3 separate regions of the Homo sapiens genome follow, and regions 1 and 2 are each linked to region 3. The links are contacts of gene promoters, found by promoter capture Hi-C in blood cells and fetal thymus (Javierre and others, 2016). All regions are on one chromosome and are shown on one strand. Each heading gives the region's core, a stretch centred on a gene start or on the middle of the fragment in contact. The rest is flanking DNA. Distances are from core to core; before and after follow the strand shown. Region 1 overlaps ADGB (androglobin). Region 2 overlaps ADGB (androglobin). Region 3 holds the start of FBXO30 (F-box protein 30).

Evidence for each region. The method cuts DNA at HindIII sites, captures the fragments that hold promoters and counts their contacts. A CHiCAGO score of 5 or more calls a contact.
Region 1: a fragment that was not itself captured here is called in contact with the fragment with the promoter of FBXO30 in region 3 in 1 of 17 cell types (fetal thymus); the score reaches 5.2 in fetal thymus.
Region 2: a contact is called between a fragment that was not itself captured here and the fragment with the promoter of FBXO30 in region 3, in 1 of 17 cell types (neutrophils). The highest score is 6.9, in neutrophils.

Annotation. Positions count from the first base shown.
Region 1 is chr6:146,713,217-146,717,349 of GRCh38, reverse strand. ADGB (androglobin) reads right to left here. Exons shown (of 36, transcript NM_024694.4): 14 at 1,935-1,968; 15 at 281-467. Among named protein-coding and RNA genes, the nearest start is that of ADGB, 120 kb to the right of the region's middle. The HindIII fragment of the contact is 1,261 bases long and covers 2,180-3,440 here.
Region 2 is chr6:146,694,079-146,698,360 of GRCh38, reverse strand. All of the region lies in intron 12 of ADGB (androglobin), which reads right to left. Among named protein-coding and RNA genes, the nearest start is that of ADGB, 97 kb to the right of the region's middle. The HindIII fragment of the contact is 5,580 bases long and covers 113-4,282 here.
Region 3 is chr6:145,812,945-145,817,385 of GRCh38, reverse strand. It overlaps FBXO30 (F-box protein 30), which reads left to right and starts at 2,591. Exons shown (of 3, transcript NM_032145.5): 1 at 2,591-2,783. The region is part of intron 1 of EPM2A-DT (EPM2A divergent transcript); the gene reads right to left. RefSeq lists enhancers at 1,501-1,570, 2,628-3,182 and a silencer at 2,411-2,950. The HindIII fragment of the contact is 9,786 bases long and covers 1-3,160 here.

The DNA of each region.
Region 1 (4,133 bases), core at 1,561-4,060, 900 kb before region 3:
AAGCCTTTGAGGAAAAGCTGCAACTGGCCTAAGATTGGTTTGGCTATTAATGTGTTATATGGATAATCAATATATTTATTTTCCATTTTATAAATTTTATTTGATATTATACCAACACTAGGCTGTTATTGGCTTATTTTGGATGATGCTAAGAATTAATAGGTTATATAACCACTATATTAAATATGCAAAAATAAATCTTAATGTGACTTTGTATACTAATGCAGCTCAGGGTTTAACCACTACGACATAGTCAGATTGATCCCATTGGTATACTTACTGAAAGCATACACAGAAATCTTCAAAATCTAACCATATTTCTTTAGAAACACTATTATTTGTTGTTGGAAGTTCTTCCTGTGACTTTTCCTGTGTTGCTGTGGTCTGGCTGACTATCTCTCTTTCCAAGTTTAATCCATCACTCTGATGAGCATCACCCAATCCAAAGTCTGTTTGTTCATCTGTGCCTAGAAGACACACATGTCAAACACATCTTATATTGTTAAATAACAAGTTATTGAAATATGTAAAATGATAAAGGGAAACTTAAATATCAAAGTCTATTTTTGGGAAAATATTTATGAGATAATCCAGGCTTCATACATTTATGGAGGTCCACACAGGGACACATTTCATACACAAAGGAGAATTTAATCACAATTTCTATGCATATCAGGGTGTTCAAAAATTTCAGAATTACTTTGACGAATTTGTTCACAGATTCTTTTTTTTTTTTTTTTTTTTTTTTTTGAGACGGAGTCTCGCTCTGTCGCCCAGGTGGGACTGCGGACTGCAGTGGCGCAATCTCGGCTCACTGCAAGCTCCGCTTCCCGGGTTCACGCCATTCTCCTGCCTCAGCCTCCCGAGTAGCTGGGACTACAGGCGCCCGCCACCGCGCCCGGCTAATTTTTTTTGTATTTTTAGTAGAGACGGGGTTTCACCTTGTTAGCCAGGATGGTCTCGATCTCCTGACCTCATGATCCACCCGCCTCGGCCTCCCAAAGTGCTGGGATTACAGGCGTGAGCCACCGCGCCCGGCCCTCACAGATTCTTTAGAGATTGTGAAGTTACAACACAAATTAGCTAGATTCTTTACTGAAAATCTGCTCTAGATGGACATATTCTTATAGGAGGGGGTGGCTCAGACAACAGAAAGGGAAATGAAAACTTGAAAGATCTGGTGCAACAAATGTGTTTCAGTAACACATTTAATCACTCCCCACAGTCAGTGGTTCTAGAGCCTTATTTTATATTTACCAAGTAATGTGGCATACCATTTTTTTTTTTTTTTTTTTGAGACGGAGTCCAGGCTGGAGTGCAGTGGCACGATCTTGGCTCACTGCAACCTCTGACTCCCTGGTTCAAGAGATTCTCCTGCCTCAGCCTCCCAAGTAGCTGGGATTACAGGCACACACCACCATGCCCTGCTAATTTTTATATTTTTAGTAGAGACAGGGTTTCACCATGTTGGCCAGGATGGTCTCGATCTACTGACTTCGTGATCTGCCCGCCTCAGCCTCCCAAAGTGCTGAGATTACATGCGTGAGCCACTGCACCTGGCCGGCATAGCATTCTTAAAGACTTCTGGATCCAAAAATATATATATAATTTTGAATTCAATTCTTGGCCAAGTCTTTTATTTAGGAACTAAGGAATTTGCAGTGGTTTTAGTGTTTCGATCACAGGGTGCAGCATTAAAACACATGAACTTTATTTGTGGGTAATCAGATTCTCTTTCATTTTTATTTTTAGCTTCAATTTAACAATTGAAATTATCTCTTTTTTTAAAGCCCAGAGCAGACTAGACTCAGCAAATCAAAGGAGACACTGAAGAAAGGCTGCTGAGAGCCAGAAGGGAAGCTGTCAAGAAGCAGAGATGCCCCTCTGTATCTTGATGTACATTGAAAAAAGTCACAGGAAAATTATTAATTTACCTTTTCCAAGTATAACTTGTGAAGCAGTATTTCCCTATGAATTAAAAGAAACACACTTTGAATCCAACAAAACATTACAGCTATCCAAAGCACCAAAGTTACTAAAAGAGCTAATATAGTTTTTTTAAACTTTGAAGAAATAGATTTTTGGGAAAATTTACTAAAACCTACCAAAAAAATTTGTTTTTAACTTTAAATGTCAAAGGACATGAATGGAATTAAACAATTGACTGAGTATTTAAGCTTGTCACATTAAGACACAGAATATGTTAATTTACTAAATGATTGAATCTTGTAACAAGAGTTAAATTAAAACAGTAATATCCCTAAGTAGACATATTACTTGGCACAAGGTATCTGCTATTAATATAGATAACTTAATAAGATTATGACTGAAAGTAATGTACAGAACCTAAAAAGGCTGATTTCAATTATAAAAATGGCTCCTGAAAATTTTAACAAGGAATTTAAGTTGAATTCATGTGTATAACTTTTGTTTTAATTATTTAATATCAAATAATTGTGTTCTGGAACACAAAAATAAATATAAAAAGTAAAATGGTATAAACTCATACAGGCTAATTACAGGTAATGTCAACAATATTTTAAAAATTATGTAAAGTGGATGGAAGAGATAGCAGAGTAGAGATAGTTAAATACTAAGTGCAAAGCAAAGCCTATCCATGCCTTAGGACCTCAGAAGCAATTAGCAGGTATCTGAGCAGGAGAGAATGAGACATGGGCTTAAAACACCGACATGGGTTGAATGTCTGTAGAAGGATTTGCACTTCTTCTCCCTAATCTTTCTGGTTCAGCATCCAGTCTTCTTTTGCCTAAACAGCACACTTGAAATTGCTTCAAGTGGAGAAATTAAATGAGAAGTTTCTTAATCTGAACTCACAGATACTCTGGAAGTAGAAGAGTCTACTGTACAGACAACAGAGGAATTAAGTGAAAGTCCACAAGCTAAGTGCTGAGACTTTCAGCTTCTCTGTGCTGCTCGACCTTCATGGATGGACAAGTATATACCATTCCCTGTGATGAACTTTAGAGGACCATTAACTGAGAAACTCACCAGAGTCAGGGGAAAAAAAAAAAAACAAGATGCACATTGGGAGCCAGCCCCACCTCCAAATAAAACTCACTCATCCTCAATTATCCTAAGTTAGAGCCAACAGTTGATAAGCTCTGGCCATGCCATTGAGCTGCTTCTAATCAGCAACTCTTTGGTGCCTTAAATTTCTTAAATATATATGTACAACAAAGTACTGGCAAACAATTGAGGAGAGATTCTTATATGAAAGAAAGAAGCTAACAATTGTGGGTGGCAAGATTCATAGAAAACAGAAACAATATTATGAGGAGTAATTTTTAAAAGATTGGTAATATTGGAAAAATAAGAGGATACTCATCTATCAAATAAGAAACTTCTACAAAAATAATAAAGAACAAGAAAGAGCTCTTAGAAAATAAAAAATAGAATAAGTGGCATAAACAATACAAGCTTTAGGCACTGAAGCGGATACAGACAGAGACAAACTACAAAACTCCTAGAAGAAAACATAGAGAGAAGCTTCATGACACTGGATTTGGCAATTATTTCTTAGATATGACTCCAAAAGCACAGGCAACAAAAGTAAAAAATAGGTAAGTTGAGCATCAAAATAAAAAAAAAGAAAACTTCTGTACATCAAAGGATACAATCAACAGAGTGAGAATGCAACCTACAAACTGGGAGAAAATATTTGCAAATTACATATCTGATAAAGGGAAAATACAAGAATATATATAGAATTTCTAAAAAGAACAAAAACAACAAAATAACCCAAACAATGCAATTAAAAAATGGGCAAATAATTTGAATAGACCCTTCTAAGGAGACATACAAATGGCCAACAGCACATGACAAGATTCTCAATATCATGAATCACTAGAGGAATACAAACCAAAATTACAATGAGACACCATTTCATGCCCATTAGGGTGGCTACCATAAACAATACACATAGAAAATAATAAATGTTGGTAAGGATGTAGAGAAATTTGAGAGGCACTGTTGAGAATGTAAAATGGTGTGGTCACTGTGGAAAACAGTGTGGTGGTTCCTCAAATGATTACCATATCCAGCAATTCCACTCTTAGGTATATTCCCAAAAGCATTGAAAGCAGAGTCTCAAGGAGATAGGTGTACACCCAAAT
Region 2 (4,282 bases), core at 1,653-4,152, 880 kb before region 3:
ATCATAGATTATAGTCTATCCAAGAGAAGGCTAAAGCCATATTTAATGGCCATTATATGTGTGACCGATGGTACAGACCATTCAATGATTTTAATAAAGTTTTATTGAAGCTTAAAATACATGTTTAAATGTTCTTAAACAATGAATGTACACTTGCTGAAATATCACAAAGTAAACACAGTCATATCACCATTATTCAGATCAAGCATTTTTCATATTACTAGCAATCCACAAACCCTGCCAGAAGCATGTCACAATCATGGCCAACTCTCCTCACCACAGATAACCACATTGGTTACTTCCAACACCATATATTGCTTTTTAAAATTGTTCTTTTCTTACTGTATATTAATAGGATAGCTGAAAACTAACCACGTAATTTGTGTACCAGACTTCTTTGGTCTAAATTTTGTGAGTGTATGTGAGATTTGTCCATATTGCTTTGTATAGCAGTCTTTATTTCACTTTTATTGCATTATATTATTGCATTATATTTGTCTTTGGCTTTACTATGATGTGTCTAGCTGCAGTTTTCTTTGTATTTATATTACTTAGTCTTTTTAGGACTTCCTGAGTCTTGACTTAAACTTTTCCCTTTAGGGATTCTTTTGGCCGTTAAGATTTGAGTTTTTAATTATTTCCAAATCTCTTTATCTCCTACTTCTGAGAACCACTGGCAAGTACGTTGGTCATGTTCAACGTGTCTCATAGGTCTTAACTGTACTTTTTTTTCCCATTTTTTTTGTCTCCATGCTTTAGTCTGGATATTATCTTCTAATCTATTTTCAACTTTGCTTATTCTCCTTTAGTCTGTATCTAATGTGTTCTTAAGCACATCTATTGAGTTCTGGGTCTTAGTCATTATACTCCTTGCTTCTAGAATTTCTATTTTATTTTTTAAACCACTTTACATACTTTCTTTTTTAAATTTTCACCACTCTATTGAAGGATAATTGAAGTACAGTTAACTGCACAAATTCAAAGTGTAAATTTGCTAGTCTTTGATATATGTGTATAACCATGTATTAGCCACCTATTGCTGCATTAAAAATTACCACAATTTTAACGGCAACCATCATACCCTGCACTCATATCACCCAATACACCAGTTATTGCTATTTGTGAAGTTCATGGTCACTTCTGATTCAATAAAAACTTCAGACCCAGCTTTACAGTCTTTCTTTCTATCCCTATTGTGATGTTCAAATATTAGTGAGTGTGGGTTCCTCTTCCTCCTCCTTCCCCCTTTCTCTTCATTGTTCTTCATTGTCTTTGCTGTTGTATTTAGTTAGTCTTTTTTTTCCCTATGAGTGACACACCCAGTTTTCCACATTTCTATGACAATCATTTAATCTTGTAATTTAATTAGCTGGTAATAACCGAAAATATTCATCAGTGCTAATGATTAAAGTAGGTAAGATGCTTTTTTGTTGTTCTAAAACAGTAGCCAAATCTGTAAAGACAGACAGATTTTCCCATCAGCATAATTACTAGAAACAAGAAAAAAAATTAGAGTACTTCTAAATATGAAATACACCAAGCCTCTCTGGCTCTCTTCTGTCTCCAGGCAATATCCCAGTTTCTTATCACCACCTTTAATCTCTCACCAGCTTGCACTCTTACATTGTCTACTCCTTTTAGGAACATAATTTGAGCAGCTTTGACATCTCACCAAAGCAGTAAAACAAACAATGTGAAAGAGAAAAGTGAGGGCATTTTTCAATAGTATCTTTGTTTTACATATAATATTTTCATATCACTTTATTTTTACAGTCAGAGTTTTCATTGATTAATTAATACATTTTTCCTCACAAAAACAGTGCCCTTTCTAGTTAATCCTCTGTGTCCCCTCAATACTTTATTTAAATATCCTTGGAATAAGGGGGCTCATTTAATTTATTTTTTTAAGTTTTATGATGCTAAAGAACATTTGAAGTAGGCCTTATTTCAACCAATTCAAAATTTATCTTAAAATAAGTATTTCTGGCTGGGCACTGTGGCTCACACCTGTAATCCCAGCACTTTGGGAGGCCAAGGTGGGTGGATCACCTGAGGTCAGGAGATAGAGACCAGCCTGGCCAACATGGTGAAACCCCATCTCTACAAAAAATACAAAAATTAGCCGGGTGTGGTGGCACACACCTGCAATCCCAGCTACTTGGGAGGCTGATGCAGGAGAATCACTTGAACCTGGAAGGCAGAGGTTGCAGTGAGCCAAGATTGCTCCACTGCACTCTAGCCTGGGCAGCAGAGCAGACTCCATCTCGGGAAAAAAAAAAAAAAGTATTTCTTACTATAAAAGGGAACTTAAGAAATATTGCTTTTGTATAATCACTGCAATGACACAAATTTTAGTATATTTGTCATGAAAGCATACATTTTTATTTATTAAATAAAATTGATTTAAAAGGTTGAAGTTGAAATGCTTTAACTATTAGGACAATTACATTCAACTGGTCTTCTCAATAGGGCAAAGAAAATGCCACTTAGTTATGTTGCATTATATGAATGAATGAGCTTTTCATTTTAATCTATGAATAGTAATATGGGTTAAAATAATAAAAACTAAAAATAATATAATACTGTTATAGTAAAATGCTACAATTATGGACAGGTCACTTGTTCATTCCTTTTAATATTTAGAAGAAACTTATGCAATGATGAAAATGTTCACTTAGAACATTTGACTACTGAGAACTTAAAATGTTGCTAATGCAACTAAGGAAATTAATTTTTAATTTTATATAATATTAATTAACTTAAAAAATTTTACATAGCCCCATGTGCCTAGTGCCTACCATACAGGAAAGAACATAATTTTAAATACTGAATAACTTAGGTGCTTCAAAATATTTTAATATTTTAATCAATTCAATTAATATTTACTTAATACCTATGATTTACTTAATGCCTATGATTTCCAAGTTACTATGTTAAATATCCAATTGTTACAGTGTAGATACAAAGCCCATATGCTAACTGTTAATGTCTTTATTATAAGTATATACAAAGCAACGTTAACTAATTCTAAAAATTTGGTGATGTTACTCATTACACCCAGAAAATTACAAACAAATTTGGAGAAGGGAAGGCTATTGGAAGCAGACAATATTAAGAACTGATAAAGACATCATTAGTACTATGAAAGCAAAATTAAAACTACAACTAAGCCAATCACTGAAACAAAGCCCCGGAAAAGCCAGTAGTCTCAGGTCATTGAATGTTAGGGTCATTGTTCCTCAAAGTCCTTGAGGTCCCTCTGTTAGAAGACAGTATAGTAATAATGCTAAGTATGATTCATCCAGGAAGCAAGGAAGGCTTTGAGTATGCTCTACTTAAGAAGGAAAGACATTATTTAATATATTAATAATGTGTATATTACAAGTGGTTAATTTAGCCCAAATTTTGACTAAATTAATGACACTGTTGATAACATTGCATTGCATTTCTATTATATTGCAGTATCAGTTAGGACTGCTTGTGTCCAAGTGACAGAAGGCTAATTCATAGTAGCTTTAATAAGAATAGAAATTCCACTGGCTTTTGTAACTGAAATGTCCAGTGGGACTGGAAAATAACTTACACAGTATTTTTTTACACATCTAGAAACCTAATAATAAGAGAATGGAGTGGTGCATATATAATTGTTGTCAAATATTTGAAGATTTTTCATGTAGATAGGGAGCTAAAAAAGCTGCAATGTATTATTTTAGGAGTTTTATATATTATTCATTTTAGGGGAAGAACTGGATGAATTTACAAAACACATCAACAGAACACACTACTTGCTAGATGAAGGGGAAGGAAGGTGCTATGGTCTGAAGGTGTGTATATACTTCTGCCATCAAATTTATATGTTGAGATCCTAAACCCTGAAATAATGGTATTAAGAGGTGAGGCCTTTGGGAGGTGACTCAACCTGCATGCATGGCATTAGTGTCCTTGTAAAAGGTACCCCAGAGAGCTCATTCACCCCTTCCACTAGGTGAGTACACAGTGGTAAGATGCCATGCATGAGGAAGCAGACCCTTGCCAGAAATTGACTCTGCTGGCGTGCAGTTCTTGGACTTCCCAGCCTCTAGAAGTATGAGAGATAAATTTTTTGTTATTTACAAGCCACAAGTCTATGGTATTTTGTTATAGCAGCCCAAACAGGCTAAGACAGAACATGAATGCTAGCAAGTGGGATTGCTGCTATGGTAACTACCTAAAATGTGGAAGCAGCTTTGGAACTGGGTAATAAAGGCTGGAAGAGTTTGGAGGTACATGCTAAAGAAAGCCT
Region 3 (4,441 bases), core at 1,342-3,841:
TGGCTTGAAGGATGTAAAGTATTGATCATAGGTGTGTCTGTGAGGGTGCTGCCAAAGGAGATTAACATTTGAGTCAGTGGGCTGGGAAAGGCAGACCCACCCTTAATCTAGGTGGGCACCATCTAATCAGCTGCCAGTACAGTTAGGATATAAAGCAGGCAGAAAAACATGAAAAGGCTAGACTGGCCTAGCCTCCCAGCCTACATCTTTCTCCTATGCTGGATGCTTTCTGCCCTTGAACATCAGACTCCAAGTTCTTCAGTTTTGGAACTCAAACTGGCTCTCCTTGTTCCTCAGCTTGCAGATGGCCTATTGTGGGACCTTGTGATCGTGTGAGTTAATACTTAATAAACTCCCTTTTATGTGTATCTATCCTATTAGTTCTGTCCCTCTAGAGAACCCTAATACACATACTAAAACATCATCCCAGCCAGGTGAATATAAAAATAACAAGATAAAATGGGTGTCTTAGGAAGAATTGTGTTGATAGGGGATTTGAGATAGGAGATACTGCAGGAGAAAGGACTGGTTAGGCAACAGCAGACATCCAAATTTGTTTAAGACAGTAATGTTAAAAAAAAAAAAAAAAACTTCAGCCAAATTAAATTTAAAGGAGTTTGAGCAACGAACAATTCACGCATCAGGCAGCCTCCTGAGCCAGAGTAGGCTTTGAGACTCCAGCGCAGCCACATGGTGGAAGATGATTTAGGACAGAAGAAGGAAAGCGACATACAGAAAACGGAACTGAGGTACAGAAACAGCTGGATTGGTTACAGGTTGGGGTTTGCCTTATTTGAACAAGGTTCGAACAACTGGCTACATTTGATTGGCCAAACTCAATGATTGACAGAAGTGTGGGCTATGGTCTGTTTACTCCTCCACTTATTATAGTTCACGGTGTACACAGAAACCTTTAGGCTGAACGTAAAATATGTAAGGAGGCTGCTTTAGGCTAAACTTGATTTAACAGTAACTAGGGATGAAGGTGAAAGAAAAAAAGGATTTTAAATAATTGTCTGGACATGGAAAATTATTGAGATGAAGGGACAAAGAAGACAATGAGGTTTCCAACCTGAATGACTCAACTTCAGGCGAGTGAGGGTGACCTAGTGTCAGCTAGGTGACTTAGTAAAAGGTAAAGCCCCAGATCTCAATAAGTATAATTAGAGATTCACAGAATTTTAAAGCTGGAAAGGGCTCTAGAGATAATCTATTTTAGATCCTTTATAAGAGGACAGCTAAAGCAAAACAAAGGTCTGTGACTCAATCCAGGACAGTGAGCATTGAGCGGGGCTATAGTGTAGCAGCACCTACATCCTCTCCCACTGGGCCATCCTGCCTGTTTCCCCATCCTGACCATGTAGCTCTCTGGACAGTGGCTCTCAAGGTCTGAACCGAGGACCAGAGCCTGTCTACAGCCAAATCAGGCAAAATAAGGGGAACAGATAATTTTTCAAAAAGTTAATCATTTAAGGAATCAACCTTTACTCTGTAATCTAAGTTCCTAACTCAGTTTTTGTTTTGTTTTGTTTAATTTACGGATCTGAAAAACCCACAGGCTTTCTCTGTAGGATAGCAAATTATGTGTGAGCTCTCTTTCCCAAAGCACAACAGCAAGGGGTAAAGATGCAGCCACAAAAAGGATGACAACAGTGTTTTCCTGGCTCTGCCCCCATCCCCACTGCCAGGATTACAACCATCTTTCCTTTGTTGTAATTCTCTTGCGACGGGGTGGGCAGGAGTCCCCGACAGAGGGGTGGGGGCGGGTGAGCGGCTCCCAACACCCAGAGCTCGGAATCACTGTCCCTCGGCCGTAGACCAAGGCTTGGTGGTGGTAGCGGGGGCGTGGACATCCATCCATTCTTTGATACAGCCCTGTGGGATTTCTTTACTCCCCAGTCATATGTAAGGTACACTGCAAAAGCGGCTTCAAGTCCCCTCCCCAGCTAATTACCTTCGCGGAATGACGCCTCGGCCCCTCACAGAAGCAGACCCTGGTGGGCTGTCCCGTCCGGGCTCCAGAGAGGCTCCGCCGCCCGCCGGGATCCAGGGCTGAGCTCTCCCGGGGGGAGGTAAAACCCGACAGGGGATAACGGGTCACAGCACCGTCCTGGCACTAAGTCACGGGACTTGGGCACGCTGAGTTAGCCGGCGGGAAGGCCTGTGGCGGCAATCACCAAAGGTCGAGCAAGGGCGCACCCATTTCCTCCAAAAATGAGCTAAAGGGAAAGCAGTGCCCCAGAGTCAAGGGATCGGGGCTGCTGCTCCTTCGACTAGCGGCGCGAACAAGTCATGCTACTTGGGCCTGTTTCCTCAACTGTAAAATGAGGGGTCTAGGATTCCCTCTGGGAATGTACGATTCTAAAATCGAACAGGGTTTGGTAGCACCGCCGGGGCGGAGCCTTACGGGGCGCCGCGGGAATCCAACGACAGGACTCGCCACAGTGGGAGCTCTCTCCAGACCCTACTCTAGCCACGACGCTGCGGGGTCAGAGGGCGGCGTGCGCGTCCCCGCCGGGACTGCGTGCGCGTCCCCGCCCAGCTGTCGGCAGAAGCCGGGCCGGGTGGGCGGGGCGCAGCGGGGCGGGGCGCGCGAGGAGGGTGGCTGCCTCTGGAGCAGGCCGGGAGAAGAGAAAAGGCGGCGGCCCGGCTGGGGAAGAGGGGCGGAGGAGGCGGTTCGGACGGCTGTGTGGGGTACGGAGCGTCGCCGGGACAGAGCGGAGCAGCTGGGCACGGCGTCCAGGGCAGCTAGGGCCTGGGCCGCGGTTCGGCCGCGCCGGCCGGTGAGTGACGGGAGGCCCGCAGGGGAGGCCGGCGCCGTCCGCGCTGCGGCGGGGACGAAGGCAGCGGCCGGGCAGTTTGAGGCCGCGGCCGGGACCGAGGCGCTGGCGCTGGCGGCCGTGGGGTTGACGGGCCCGGCCTGGAGCAGAGGAAAGGCGGCTGACCCCGGTCCATGCGCGTCCCGGGTCGGCCGTCCGGGCGCCCTGAGAGGGCGTCCGCCGCGCTCGTGTCCTCGCCGGGCCGCATGCCGGGCCAGCCGTTGAGGTCAGCAAATGGCGACTTAAGCCTCGAGGGCACCGACCTCCGTGTCCCCCCCAGTTTGTGTGTCTTTGTATTGGGAAGGGACGAAGGAGGAGTTAAACTTAGGGAACCCTAAGCTTCTCGTTCCGTCTGGTTTTTAGAAACTTGGGTTATTTGGGGACAAATGGCTTAAAGTAAGACTGGGGAGGCATCATCCACTGTCTGCACGGGATGAGCAAAGTTGGTAACTTTGCCATTCATGGAAGTGAGAGGATCTTAGCCTTAGCCTCGGTCCTTATTAAAGGGGAACTTCCTTATTTTGCAGACCTGAGGTTATTTGTGTTGTTCCAAGACCTGCGCCTTGGAACTCCTTTGCTTGGAAGGGGTTTATAGAGCGCGTGCTGAATTCAAAGTAATCTGCCAGTATGTTTTTAACGGGTATATTTGGGAGTATAGAGGCAAAGAGGCAAAACAGTATGTGTTTACCAATGTCCTAGTACTCCATTTCCCTCTCCCTTTCTCTTGTTTTTCTTATTGAGCCCTGTTGTAAGTCCCAGATAAAAGATGCTTGGGAACGAATTGACCTTTTATTCCATGATTACTTCGTTGACTCTGATCCAAGATGAAGTTATTTATGGGCATTCTGATATCGGTGTAGATTAATTTAAAATCTTTTAATACAAAATCCCAAACTTTTTAAATTTTAATTTCCATTTGCTAAATTTCAATACTGTTTGTTCTTTAGAGACCTATGGAAATTATATTAACAGGTTTTGCATTTGCTCATACTAAGGTTTTCCAAAGCAGTCCAATTGTTGACATGGCAAAAGGAAAAGAGTAGCATAAAATAAACCTTTAGGATTTTTCAGAGGGTTAGATTTCAATATGCGGTTTCCGCTGAATCACTCTTCTTCATGCTTAGTCACTGTTTCTCATCACAAAAGTTTAATTGGGGATAACATGGTGTTTTGCTGACTTTTTAAATTGCCAATTTGTTTTTACCTAGCACTTTAATGCCGTGACGTAACTTTTTTTTTTTTTTTTAATTCTGGAAATGGTGGAGTTTCGTGAATGCTGTAAGAGAACTGAAGTTTCGAATATAGGCAAACTTTAATGTATACCAAGTGTACTAGGTATTTAATTTCAATCCAGTATTTCTCCCGGTCTAGCATTGGGAGACTTCTTCTAAAAAGTGTCCTAATATATCATTAAAAAGCAATATTATATAAGTAATGCTAACGTGTATAGAGAGGTACTTTAAGGTCACCAAAATAGGCATTGGTTAATGCTTACTGTTTGATATAACATGTTTCTAAGATGTGAATATTTTAATGGATAAGCGCTATGCTATTCTGTATGATTTTGGATAAATATTTTAATTCAGTTCCTAAGACTGCTTATTTGATAGAAGGAGTTAGTA